Linked DNA regions of Homo sapiens: region 2 is linked to region 1. Evidence: promoter capture Hi-C in human tissues and cell types (Jung and others, 2019). All regions are on one chromosome and are shown on one strand. Each heading gives the region's core, a stretch centred on a gene start or on the middle of the fragment in contact. The rest is flanking DNA. Distances are from core to core; before and after follow the strand shown.

The links. Contacts are between HindIII fragments. The study calls those that stand out against the background at their distance.
Region 2: the fragment with the promoter of ATP1B4 here is called in contact with the fragment with the promoter of RHOXF1 in region 1 in 1 of the 25 tissues and cell types used here (stomach).

The regions. Positions count from the first base shown.
Region 1 is chrX:120,113,544-120,119,165 of GRCh38, reverse strand. It overlaps RHOXF1 (Rhox homeobox family member 1), which reads left to right and starts at 3,253. Exons shown (of 3, transcript NM_139282.3): 1 at 3,253-3,701. The coding sequence starts at 3,304. The region is part of intron 1 of RHOXF1-AS1 (RHOXF1 antisense RNA 1); the gene reads right to left. It overlaps LINC01402 (long intergenic non-protein coding RNA 1402), which reads left to right. Exons shown (of 3, transcript NR_126557.1): 2 at 1,255-1,304; 3 at 1,457-1,524. The HindIII fragment of the contact is 14,045 bases long and covers 1-5,622 here.
Region 2 is chrX:120,359,849-120,365,677 of GRCh38, reverse strand. ATP1B4 (ATPase Na+/K+ transporting family member beta 4) reads right to left here and starts at 3,589. Exons shown (of 8, transcript NM_001142447.3): 1 at 3,447-3,589. The coding sequence starts at 3,509. The HindIII fragment of the contact is 10,002 bases long and covers 1-5,829 here.

The DNA.
Region 1 (5,622 bases), core at 2,004-4,503:
TGACCATGCAGCCTCACATTTCCTACTTGACTCACTTTCATATTTTTTTATTCACAAGGGAGAGAGAGTGATTGTTCTCCTCTGGCAGCATGTAATAAAGATAGAGCATCTTCTTGTGAAAACAATACACGTACCATGTTTCTATGTACCTATATGTGCTTCCATCAATAAGCCTATGTTGGTTGCTGCATGTATGAGCCCTGGGCCAGGAAATGTGCCAGGAGAGTGTGTCTTTCACTCAGCAGACAGATTTTCTTCCTTGGCCTAATATATCTTATTCCTAGATACCAGAGCAAATAATAATGTAATAAGCATTACCATGTATTAAGTACCTACTCTGGACCCAACCCAAGAACAAGCAGTATGAAGGTGATAAGCAGGGGCACCATGGTGTAATTCACATTTTCATCATCAGATCACTCTGGCTGCTGGGTGGAGAATGTTTATAGGAGAAAAAAGGTGAAAGCAGGGAGACAGGACACTAATGCAATATCCCAGGTTTAAGATGATAGAGATTATCTTAAGCATGTCAGAGAAAAAAAATTAAAGGTTTGGGAATGTGTTTCTGAGGCGGAGTCAACAGGATTTGCTGATAAATTGACTATTTGGAGTTGAAGAAAAAGAATAAAACAGTCTATATATAACCAAGTACCTCTTTTTTAAAGAATCAAATGAATTATTTTTTCCTTTTTCCTTTCCTCACACCTCCTACTTAGCTCTTTGGGAATGCAATTATAAACTTTACCTTCTCTCCACCAGACACTCCCTACACAGCAAGCTTATCTAACTACATGTTTACTTAGAAGTTACAGAGACCGAACCTTAAAGCAAACCAGGAACCTCCAGAACTCTCTCCTACCAGGAGGCAAATTGAGATTGCCTCAACTTACAACCTAGCTCTGCCCGTGACGGTGCCAGCCAGACCACCTGATAGATAAGACATCCGAAGCAAGTCACATAGACTCTGCACTTCATCGCCCTCTCCCCTGCATGCCATTCACGCCAAGCCCCACTTTCAAAGCTCCTGCCTTCTGCCCCAAAGGCTTTAGTGGCTTCCTCAAGGCAGCCTGTACTACTTCCCCTCAACTAGCTCTGGAATAAAGCCACTTTCTTTCTACCAGACGTCGTTCTTGTTCACTGGACTTTGCAACTGGTGAGCAGTCGGAGCTGTGTTCAGTTACATGTATGCCTTGCCTCATTGAACTCTCATGAAAACCCTATGATCGAGACACTGTTGTTATCTCCATTTTATAGGTGAGGAAGCTGAGAACCAGATAGATTCATCCAGTGTCCTAGGACACACAGTGAGTCATGCTTCGGATCTGTGCTCCTAGCTGATGCCTCCCATTACTGGTAGTCCTTTCCTGCTCCCCACAATGTACATTTATTCATTTCTTTTTCTATTTTCTTATTATCTTTCTATTTTTCTTCTTCTTCCTCTCTCTTCTCTCACTAGGGATAGAACGCAAGGATCTCACTTAGCCCAGTGGATGGCAGTCAATTAATGGAGCGAGTGGCTTAGTCCTTGTCATGCTGCCAAGTGCAAGGGCCTTTCCATGCTCAGAATCACCATGAAGACGAGAGCTATCTCTCTTGGTAGGCTACAGACTCAAAGGGTCTGCATATTTATATATGCTGCCAAAAAAACCTCAAATAACCAATAGATATAAATAGATACAGAAAGTTTTTAAAAGAACATTTAAAAATAAAATTTTTAAAAATATTTTTAAAAAACAAAATAAAGTATATAACATCACTTAAGAGCACACACACAATCTCTAGAAAAATTAAGGATTCATGAGTTGTCCACCCTCAAAAGACATCTCCATGCCCTTCCTCATGACAGACTCTCTTAGCGCTTTCCTTTCTTTCATTTTCATTTTATTTCTTATTTTATTATTTATTTTAAAGAAAAGGGGCCTCTGTCTGTTGCCCAGGCTGGAGTGCTGCCATGTGATTCTAGCTCACCACAGCCTCAAACTCCTGGGTTCAAGTGATCCTCCCATCTCAGCCTCCTGAGTAGCTGGGACTAGTGCAGGAGCCACTGCACCAGGCTCTTCAGGGTTTTTCTTCGTAATTGGGCTTATTGGGGTCAGTGGTAGGAAGGCTGTGTAGTTACAAGGCTCTGTGGAGCAGAAGTGGCCCCACATCCAGTAAGCTGCATATCCTTAAATCCCAAATCTCCATCCCAAGATTGGAGATTTTTGGCAGGTATGCCCTTACTGGTGCTCTTCCTATACCATCCCCGATTTTATTTATTTATTTATTTTTTGCTTGTCCTTATAGCACTCCATTTTGCCATGAGTACAGGTTTCTCTTGCATAGCCAAAGATATTCAGTCTCAGGCTAACAGATTCAGCCTCGTGTTTATTCTGTGTTGACTTTCTCAAAGGGTGCGTTAGATTTCTTGCAGAGCACATCTTACCACCCAGAATGCTCTGCATGCCCATCTCCAAGATCCCGATCCCAGCACTGAAGAGAGCATGGCAGCTCTGCTTTCAGTGCCTTTGCTGGAACTCTGAACAAGCAGCCCCCAGTCAATCATTTCTGCTTAATTAATAGCCCGCGCCCTGTGCATGCTGCCAAATATGGAGGGTCAGGCCATGAGATATTCTCCAAACTTTTACTCAAGGCGTCCTATGGTCACCGTGAGATCTCACCTCCCCTCTGAGCCCCCAAATCAGCTTTCCTCAGGGTAATAACTAGGCCCGAGTAGGGTGTAGTCAGCAAAGCTGCAAGCTGGGGCCCCATGTTGCATACATATATGCCTCCTATTGGCCCTTTTCTTCTCCACACTGCCCCTGTGTTTTGGCCACCCCACTCCACCCTCAACTGCCACCCCCACCCACGACCCATACCACACCCCTCACCCCCACCCACAACCCCTACCCCCACCACGCACCCTCCACCCACACCTCCCATCTCCACCCGCTACCCCCACCCCCACCATGTACCCCCACCGGCAACCCCCACCCCAACCCACAACCCCTACCCTCACCCGCAACCCCCACCCTCACTGTGCACCCCCCACCCTCCACCCACACCCCCATCCCCACCTGCACCCCACCCCACACTCACAACCCCCCACTCCCACCTGCAACACCCCCACTCCCCACCCGCACCCCCCAACTTCCCATCCCCCCACTCCTCTCCATTCCCTCTCTTGCTTGTGCGCATAAGCAAGTCCCACTCATTGCAACTGTAACCAATACCAAGCATGAGAACAGGAACTAGCTCCACCCTCTAACCCCCACTCCAGCTGCAGACGCCACGGAGTTTGTGCAGGGGCGCAGCGCTCCAGCCATGGCGCGTTCGCTCGTCCACGACACCGTGTTCTACTGCCTGAGTGTATACCAGGTAAAAATAAGCCCCACACCTCAGCTGGGGGCAGCATCAAGCGCAGAAGGCCATGTTGGCCAAGGAGCTCCAGGCCTCATGGGTAATATGAACCCTGAGGGCGGTGTGAACCACGAGAACGGCATGAACCGCGATGGCGGCATGATCCCCGAGGGCGGCGGTGGAAACCAGGAGCCTCGGCAGCAGCCGCAGCCCCCGCCGGAGGAGCCGGCCCAGGCGGCCATGGAGGGTCCGCAGCCCGAGAACATGCAGCCACGAACTCGGCGCACGAAGTTCACGCTGTTGCAGGTGGAGGAGCTGGAAAGTGTTTTCCGACACACTCAATACCCTGATGTGCCCACAAGGTAAGTGGCCTGCTCCAGGAGCCACGAGATCTCCAAGTTCGTTTCGAGGCATCTTTTTCTCTCCCTTGCCCCACCCAATCATGAGGAAAAAGCCACTGGGGGTCCTTGCCTGCCTTTGTGCTGGTGTGGAGGGGGATATTTACCTCCTGGGCATCAAGGTAAATGTTTTATTGCAATGTTTATGTGAATGAAACCTGGAAACTAGTCCGTGCCTCCCTTTTATAAAGATGTGGTAAAATACACGGAAATATGAAATTTACCGTCCAAACCACTTTTTAAGTATAGAGTTCAGTTGTGTTAAGTATGTTCACATTGTTGTGCAATAGATCTCTAGAATTCTTCTCATCTTGCCAAGCTAAGTCTCTATACCAGTTAAGCAACTCCCCTTTTCCCCCTTTCCCCAGCCCTTGGCAACCACCATTCTACTATTTTATGTCTCTATGATTTTGACTACTCTAGGTATCTCATGTAAGTAGAATCATACAGTATTTGCATTTTTGTCACTGACTTATTTCACTTAGCATAAGGTCTTCAAGGTTCATCCATATCGCAGCATATATTAGAATTTCCTTCCTTTTTAAGGCTAAATAATATTCCATTTTATAGATACAGGTGCACACCAACAGTACATGGGGGTTCCAGTTTCTCCACATCCTCACCAACACTTGTTATTTTCTGGGGTTTTTTACATAGCCATCCTAATGGGTGTGAGGTGATACTTCATTGTAGTTTCGATTTGCTTTTCCCTAATGATTAGTGATGTTGTGCATCCTTTCATGTGCTTAGTGGCCACTTGTATATCTTCTTTGGAGAAATATCTCTTTAAGTCCTTTACCCATTTTAAAATCTGAGTGGCTTTTTCTTTCTTTCTTTCTTTTTTTTTGGTTATTGGGTTGTAGGAGTTCTTTATACACTCTGGATATTAACCCCTTATCAGATGTGATTTGCAAATATTTCCTTCCATTCTATGAGTTGTCTTTTTACTCTGTTCATTGCATCTTTTGATATACAGAAGTTTTAAATTTTGATATAGTCCAAGTTATGTATTTTTTCTTTTATTACCTGTGATGATGGCCTGTTTTTGTTGTTGTTGTTGTTTTTGTTGAGTGGGGGATCTGTCACCCAAGCAATCCTCCCATCTCAGCCTCCTGAGTTGCTGGGATTATAGGAGTGAGCCACCACACCCAGCTGTGGTCTGTTTTTATAAATAAAATTTTATTGAAATTGGGGTAAGGAGAATGAGGTACTGTCATGCAACTACAGTGCTAGATCCTTCCTTTATTTAAAATTTTGATAATTTGTTCATCATAGTTTTTTTTTGTTTGTTTGGTTGGTTTTTTGTTTTTCTGGTTTTTTTGTTTTGTCTTGAGACAGAGTCTCTCTCTGTGGCCCAGGTTGGAGTGCAGCAGTGCGATTTCAGCTCTCTGCAACATTTGCTTCCTGGGTTCAAGCCATCCTCCCGTGTCAGCCCCCTGAGTAGCTGGGACTGCAGGCACAGGCCACCACACCTGGCTAATTTTTGTATTTTTTTTGTGTGTAGAGATAAGGTTTCGCCGTGTTGCCCAGGCTAGTCTCAAACTCCTGGGCTCAAGCAATTTGCCTGCCTCGGCCTCCCAAACTGCTGGGATTACAGGCCTGAGCCACAGTGCCTGGTCCTCATCACAGATTTTTGCATTAATTGTTATTTATTAAAATAGTGCATTAGGGCCAGGCACGGTGGCTCAGGCCTGTAATTCCAGCGCTTTTGGGAGGCCAAGGTGGGAAGGTTGCTTGAGTCCAGGAGTTCAAGAACAGCCTGGGCAACATGGCAAAACCCCGTCTCTAAATAAAACTTAAAAAATTAGCCATGTGGGTGTGGTGGTGTGTGCCTGTACTCCCAGCCACTTGGAAGGCTGAGGCAGGAGGATCGTTCGAGCCCAGG
Region 2 (5,829 bases), core at 2,340-4,839, 250 kb before region 1:
GTGGTGTTTCAAATGCCTCCCAGCCACAGGCCAGAGAGTTGTATCTTTGCTCTTTGGGGGTTTGCCAAGGCTTATTGCAGCAGCAGAAAATGAGGCTGCCCTCCCTTCTCTGCTGTCCAAGTCTGAAGAGTTGCGGGGCTGTGCACCTGTTGGGTTGGATGTGTCAAACACTAGAGACCAGGGGCTCTGTGCTGCCCCCTCCCGGCCTGATTCCTCAAAGGCCATTTAGAGGGCACCCTGCTAAAAATGCTGCCTTTGTTGGGGGGAGGAGGGCTCAGCAAATTGGATTGTTCAGAATCAGTACAAGTGATACAGAATGACAAGGCTCAGCTCTCAGCATTCAGTCTGCACAGCACTATCTAGCTCTTGATTATAAGCCCTCTTGAATTGCTCTCTAATTTGTTCCAATGTACAGCTCTATATAAAATATCACATCAGAACCGACAGAGACCTTCAAGATTTACTTATCCATCTGAGGCCCAGAGATGGGACAGGATCTAGCCAAAACCATGCAGTAAATTCATGATAGAGTTGACGGTCTCGGAACCTATGTCTCTTGATACCCTGGACAATGATGTTTCTCCTCTATCACATTGAGCACAAGTGCCTAGAGGTAGCTTAGTAGATTAATGAAGCACAGTGCCTTAGGTTCTGTGTTCCTAAACGATTTTAGGGCTCAAGCCTGTAATCCCGACACTTTGGGAGGCCAAGAAAGGAGGATCACTTGAACCCAGGAGTTTGATGACAGCCTGAGCAACATAGTGAGACCCTGTCTCTACAAAATTAAAAAAAAATTAACCAGGCATGGTGGCATGCACCTGTAGTCCTAGCTACTCAGGAGGCTGAGGCAGGAGGATCACTTGAGCCTGGGAGGTCAAGGCTGCAGTGAGCTGTGATCATGCCACTGTACTCCAGCCTGGGTGACAGAGTGAGACATTGTCTCAAAAAAACACAAAAAAAGATTTTAGGTGCTTATTATAATCAAGGATGGCTGACTGACATAGGCTCACAGTGTAAGGCTTAGGAAAATAAACTTCATCACTCAATGATGAATGGATTAATACCTGTTCTTAAATATCTTTCACTTGTGTGTGAACCTATGCACACATTTAAACTCCCAAACTACATTTTGAGCACCCAGAGGGAGATTCCATATTTTCTAGCCTCTCGATGGCCCTCCACAGTGTAAAGCTGACAGTTAAGTACCCAGTGGGTCCTAACCAAATATCAGTGATACCTGCCTGACTTAAAATTCCTGATGCAGGACTCTGCGGGAATGCTCTCACAGAGCTTGTCACCCTGACTGAGCTGTCATGTATATCACAGTGGGTAGCAATCATGGCCCCCAGAGAATCTACTGCACCTGAGAATCTCAGTGAATTTGAAGTATAACATTTCATTGAGGAGAAATATATATTCCCTTTATATTTCCTGAACAATTTTCTTTTCTCTCCATGTTACCTATGCCTGCCTTTAACCTTCCACAGAGGAGGCAGCTGGCCTAGGCCTCAGACTGATCTTATTTGTAGATATTGGCTCTCATGATAATCCCATTACAGATGGCTTGTCATTAAAGCTTTACCCTCCTGAGAAGAATTAATCTTCTCACGGCTAATTTGCCCCTACAGCTCTCACACCCGAGAGGCTGTGAGAGGTTCCTGAGCTTTACTTTAGGAACCTCGAATCTTTTCTCCTCTCCTCTGTTTCCAGGTAAAGGAAATGGTCACACTGTGCAAGAGAGGCCTTCCCCAAAAGATCCTCATTAATTAAATCCTGTGTAAAATGTATCTTTGTGAAACTATTTAACAAAATCCAATAGAAAATCCTTTGGTAATGAGAATGCTTATCCCTAAGATTCTGTCTTGTCACTTTCCTAAAGTGGCACTACCCTCATGTGATAGTGTGTGTGAGTGTGCTGGGATATGGTAGTGGGTGTGTGATGGGGTCATCAGGTTTCCCTGAAAGGGAAGAGTCTGAAGAACAGAGGGTAGCTCCATTTTGAGTAATCTAAATATATAAACATATAAACAAATATATAAACAAACAGTATGACCCAAAGGATAAATTTTAAATTTGTGCTCTGCAAAGAAGACAGCAAGGCATGTGTTTATACACCATAAACATTTGAATGGCTGGTTAATTTTAAAAGAGAAATTAGCACAGGATTGCATTAATTTATTTTTAAATTTGGTCAAGTATTATAAAGAGCAAGATCCCCTGATGCATTTAAAATCCAAGCCACTTAACAAATAACTGAAATTATACACAACATTTTAACAAGATTACATAGAAAAGAAGGCAAGTAAGAAATAGTTTTATACCCCTGCAGATTGTAACTGTTTTGAGAGCTGGAAGAAACTTTGGGGGAAGTTAAACGGTTCTTCAAATTGTGGCTAAAAAGCTAAGAGAAGCCCTCTGTAGATTGATAGGAGGTTAGAATAATGTGTGTTTTCTTCTGCGGGCTGTTGACAGTCTTCACTTAACTCCCTGGTTACATAAGTGGCCATACCCAAAGAAAAATGGCTTAGGCTTTGTTTCCTCCTGGGGCTGAGATCACAATCCTCTCTGGGGAACATTTCAAAATCCTCTCCCCAAAAAGCACTGCGTGTGGCATACATTAATGACTTATAGCAAAATAAATGCAAATAAACTTTTGGATCAAATAATTTGTAATACACCCTGGAAATAAATGATGAGACAAAAGAATGTATGTGTGTCTACATGTTGGGCAGTGTGGGGTGGCAGTCAGGATGGCAATGGGTAGTGGCAGATCGGGGGTTTGGAAGATGCATTCTGCAAATACAATGGAAAGAGTACAAGATTAGCAGTGAGGATATTGCATTTTCACTTTGGCTCCTCCACTAACTTGCAAGTCACTCCTGTACTCTGAGCCACAGCAGCCTCCTTTAGGTAATGAGGGGTTCTGGAGAGATAATGTCTAGGATTCCTCCCTGCTCCTATTGGGGATTCTATGATTTTAGCTATAGTTTGGAATTTCTACTTTAGAAAGAGAGCAGCTGGACTCTAAGAAGCTACCACCCAAGAGACAGCTGGGTAGGCAGTGCCTTTCATTTCCTCTTCCTCCTTCCTTCCCTCTTGGCTAAATTTCTTGCTATTAGAATTAAACTTTTATACTCCAAAAGGTCTGTGAAAATTCTATACTCCCAGGAAAAGATTTTAGAAGCCACTTATTCTCTGTTATCTTCTCCTTCCCTTATCTTTGTTTCACAGGAAGAGGGGCTTCCTCCTTTTATCCAGCAGTTTAGGGTGCCCGGGGGTGCTGGGAGTCACTGCTCCTTTTTGAAACCCTGGGCTCCCCTAAACTTCGCTGTTTCTGCCCGTCTCAAAGAGAGGCAGCCGTAAACCAAGGTCTACACAGCCCCCAACCCACCCCATTAAAATAAAAGGGGAGGGGGCAGCAAAATATTCTGCTCTCTGGCACTCACGAGTCTGTAGCGATAACTGTAAGGAAAGGATGGAGCCCTTCTGGACCGGAGTTGCCTTCTCATGGCTGTTCAGTGGGCAAAGACGCAGCAGAGGCAGGCAATCGGGTGAGAGTTCTGGAGCTTCTGCTGGTACAGGAGACACTGGTTGCTGGGGACACTTGGCGCCTGGTAAAAGTGAACCCTCCTGGCATGAGCCCTTCCCCAGAATAATCTAACATGTCCCTCTGTCATTGGTTGGCTCCTTCCCTGAATCAAGGGAAAGCCCTTATGGAAAAGCAAGCTCATCATTACAAGGAGGGGGAGATATTCTGGGTCACGAGGATGAGCAACTCACCCTCCCGCCCCCTTTATATGTCTTTCCACCCCTTGTCTTTCTCCAGCGCTTGAGATATGATGGCCCCAATGGAAATCTTAAGTCATGTTCTTCTCAATTGAGAGTTGGATATCAGTGCATGCAGGGGGTGGGTGTGGGTGGGAGTTGGGGGTGAGGGGAGATGGCCAAGAATAACTTGCTTTTTTCATAAGGCTGATCTCATGCAAAAGGATCTAGGATGTCAGGAAAGATTCCCTTTGCTCTCTCCCCCCACCCCCACACACACTGTAAGCCACCTACAATATTTCTTATTTGTGTCAATCCATGAGCTTCTTAAAATGTGGATTATTCTTTCTGATTTTAGAAGCCAGGCTCCTACTTCATTCCTCCCTGCCCCAAAGAGGGTCTTGGACATAAGGAAGCCTTTTTCTAGCCCACATGTCAGAGTGGCCCCATCAGTCACTGCCCCTCATACACACACCCCTCCAAATCCTGGCCAAATTTCTGTAGTGGTTGAGATCTATATTTATCCCTTAGCATCAGGGCAGGGAACAAGCCAGAACTTTGCAGTGTCAGTTTCCCAGACATATGTAACTCCTGAAACCAACATGGGATCCAATGAAAGGAAAAATTAGAAGAAACAGTTAAGAATATTGTATAGCATTTTTGGTCTGTTTGGGGTCCACCCTACTGGAGCCTGGGTGGCTAAAAGGCCTGGATGGAGTTTGTGATCCTTCCTTCACAAATCAAACCCCATTATACTCAAGTGGCTGAGAATGTTGCAGATACTGACATTCTGGGCACATTCATTACTGAGAAAAACAGCACAATAGCTTAGAAAGATTTAATCATAACTCCAATTCAAGGCTATTCTGATGAAAATGGCTTCAATTGCAGTTAATTTTAAATAAGAATTCCTTTCACTGTAATGTTACTAATCAGACCTCTTCTTTAACAGTGTCTCTTCCCATATGCTTCTTTGAAGGGAAAAAGGCCACTTACAAAAAAGAGAAACTTATTCTTCTCTTTGAATTTTATTAAAAGCAAAATATATTCTAGGGGATAATCTGGTCTCTGGTCTCAGTAGATGTTGATCTCTATCTTCTACACCTTCTCCAAGCCAGTCTTTTGTGTGATTCCTTACATTAAGTATGAGAATCCCCAGGCCCTTGGAAGCCTTAAAACCAAACAATGGCTAGGCTAACTGGTCTAAGGCTGAAAAGAGAGTACACTCACTTTAAAACATTTCAAAAACTGAGAGTAGGGGGACAAAAGGGAGTTAGGAGTGACATGACCTTAGGTAACAAAATACTCCATTCTCTAGAATCTTCCATTCCTAAGCATTCTGGGTAATTGGAGGTTTGATGTATACTTAAGACATTTGCCATGTATTTCAGCTATAGCCCAGGCTGTGTTCTGGAATGTCAGCTGTTGGGTGGGGTAAAATAACCAAATCCCATAGGATGTTGAAGACAGAAATCTGTATGAATTTACACTCAAAACACTAGTTAGAAGGGAAATGATTCCTGCCAAATTTGAAAAAAAAAAAAAAAAGCAATATGCCTAACAGTGCAGCAGAATGGAGCCACAAGTGGCTAATGCGGATGCAAATGAAGCAGTGGCTACAAAGGGACAAGGGGAGGGAGAAAGGAGAGACTTTGAATATAACAGCAGATTCGGGGGCACATTATTAAAGTCTAGAAAACTACATGCTCATTTCTTGGGCACAGGTATTAGCAAATGCTTCTATAAGCCCCTTGTCCTGAGTGCCTGCTGTGGTGAAACCACAGAGTTGGCTGACAATGGCAACTAACTGGGAACAGAAACAATCTTATGGGCTGGGTCCCCCTGTTCCCAAAGGAAGGAAGATATGGTAGCACCCTTCAGATAATCTTTGCCTTTACCACGAGATGGGCTAGTTTATGACATCTGTTCTTGTGGGCCATTTCCACAGTTGTGTAAGTTGTGGGGTGGCCACAATGTGTCCCAGAGCCGTCAAAGAGCAGTTGTGTACTTTCCATACCAAGGGACTGGTTAGGTCTTCAGGGACTCTGGGAGGTAATGTGCAGT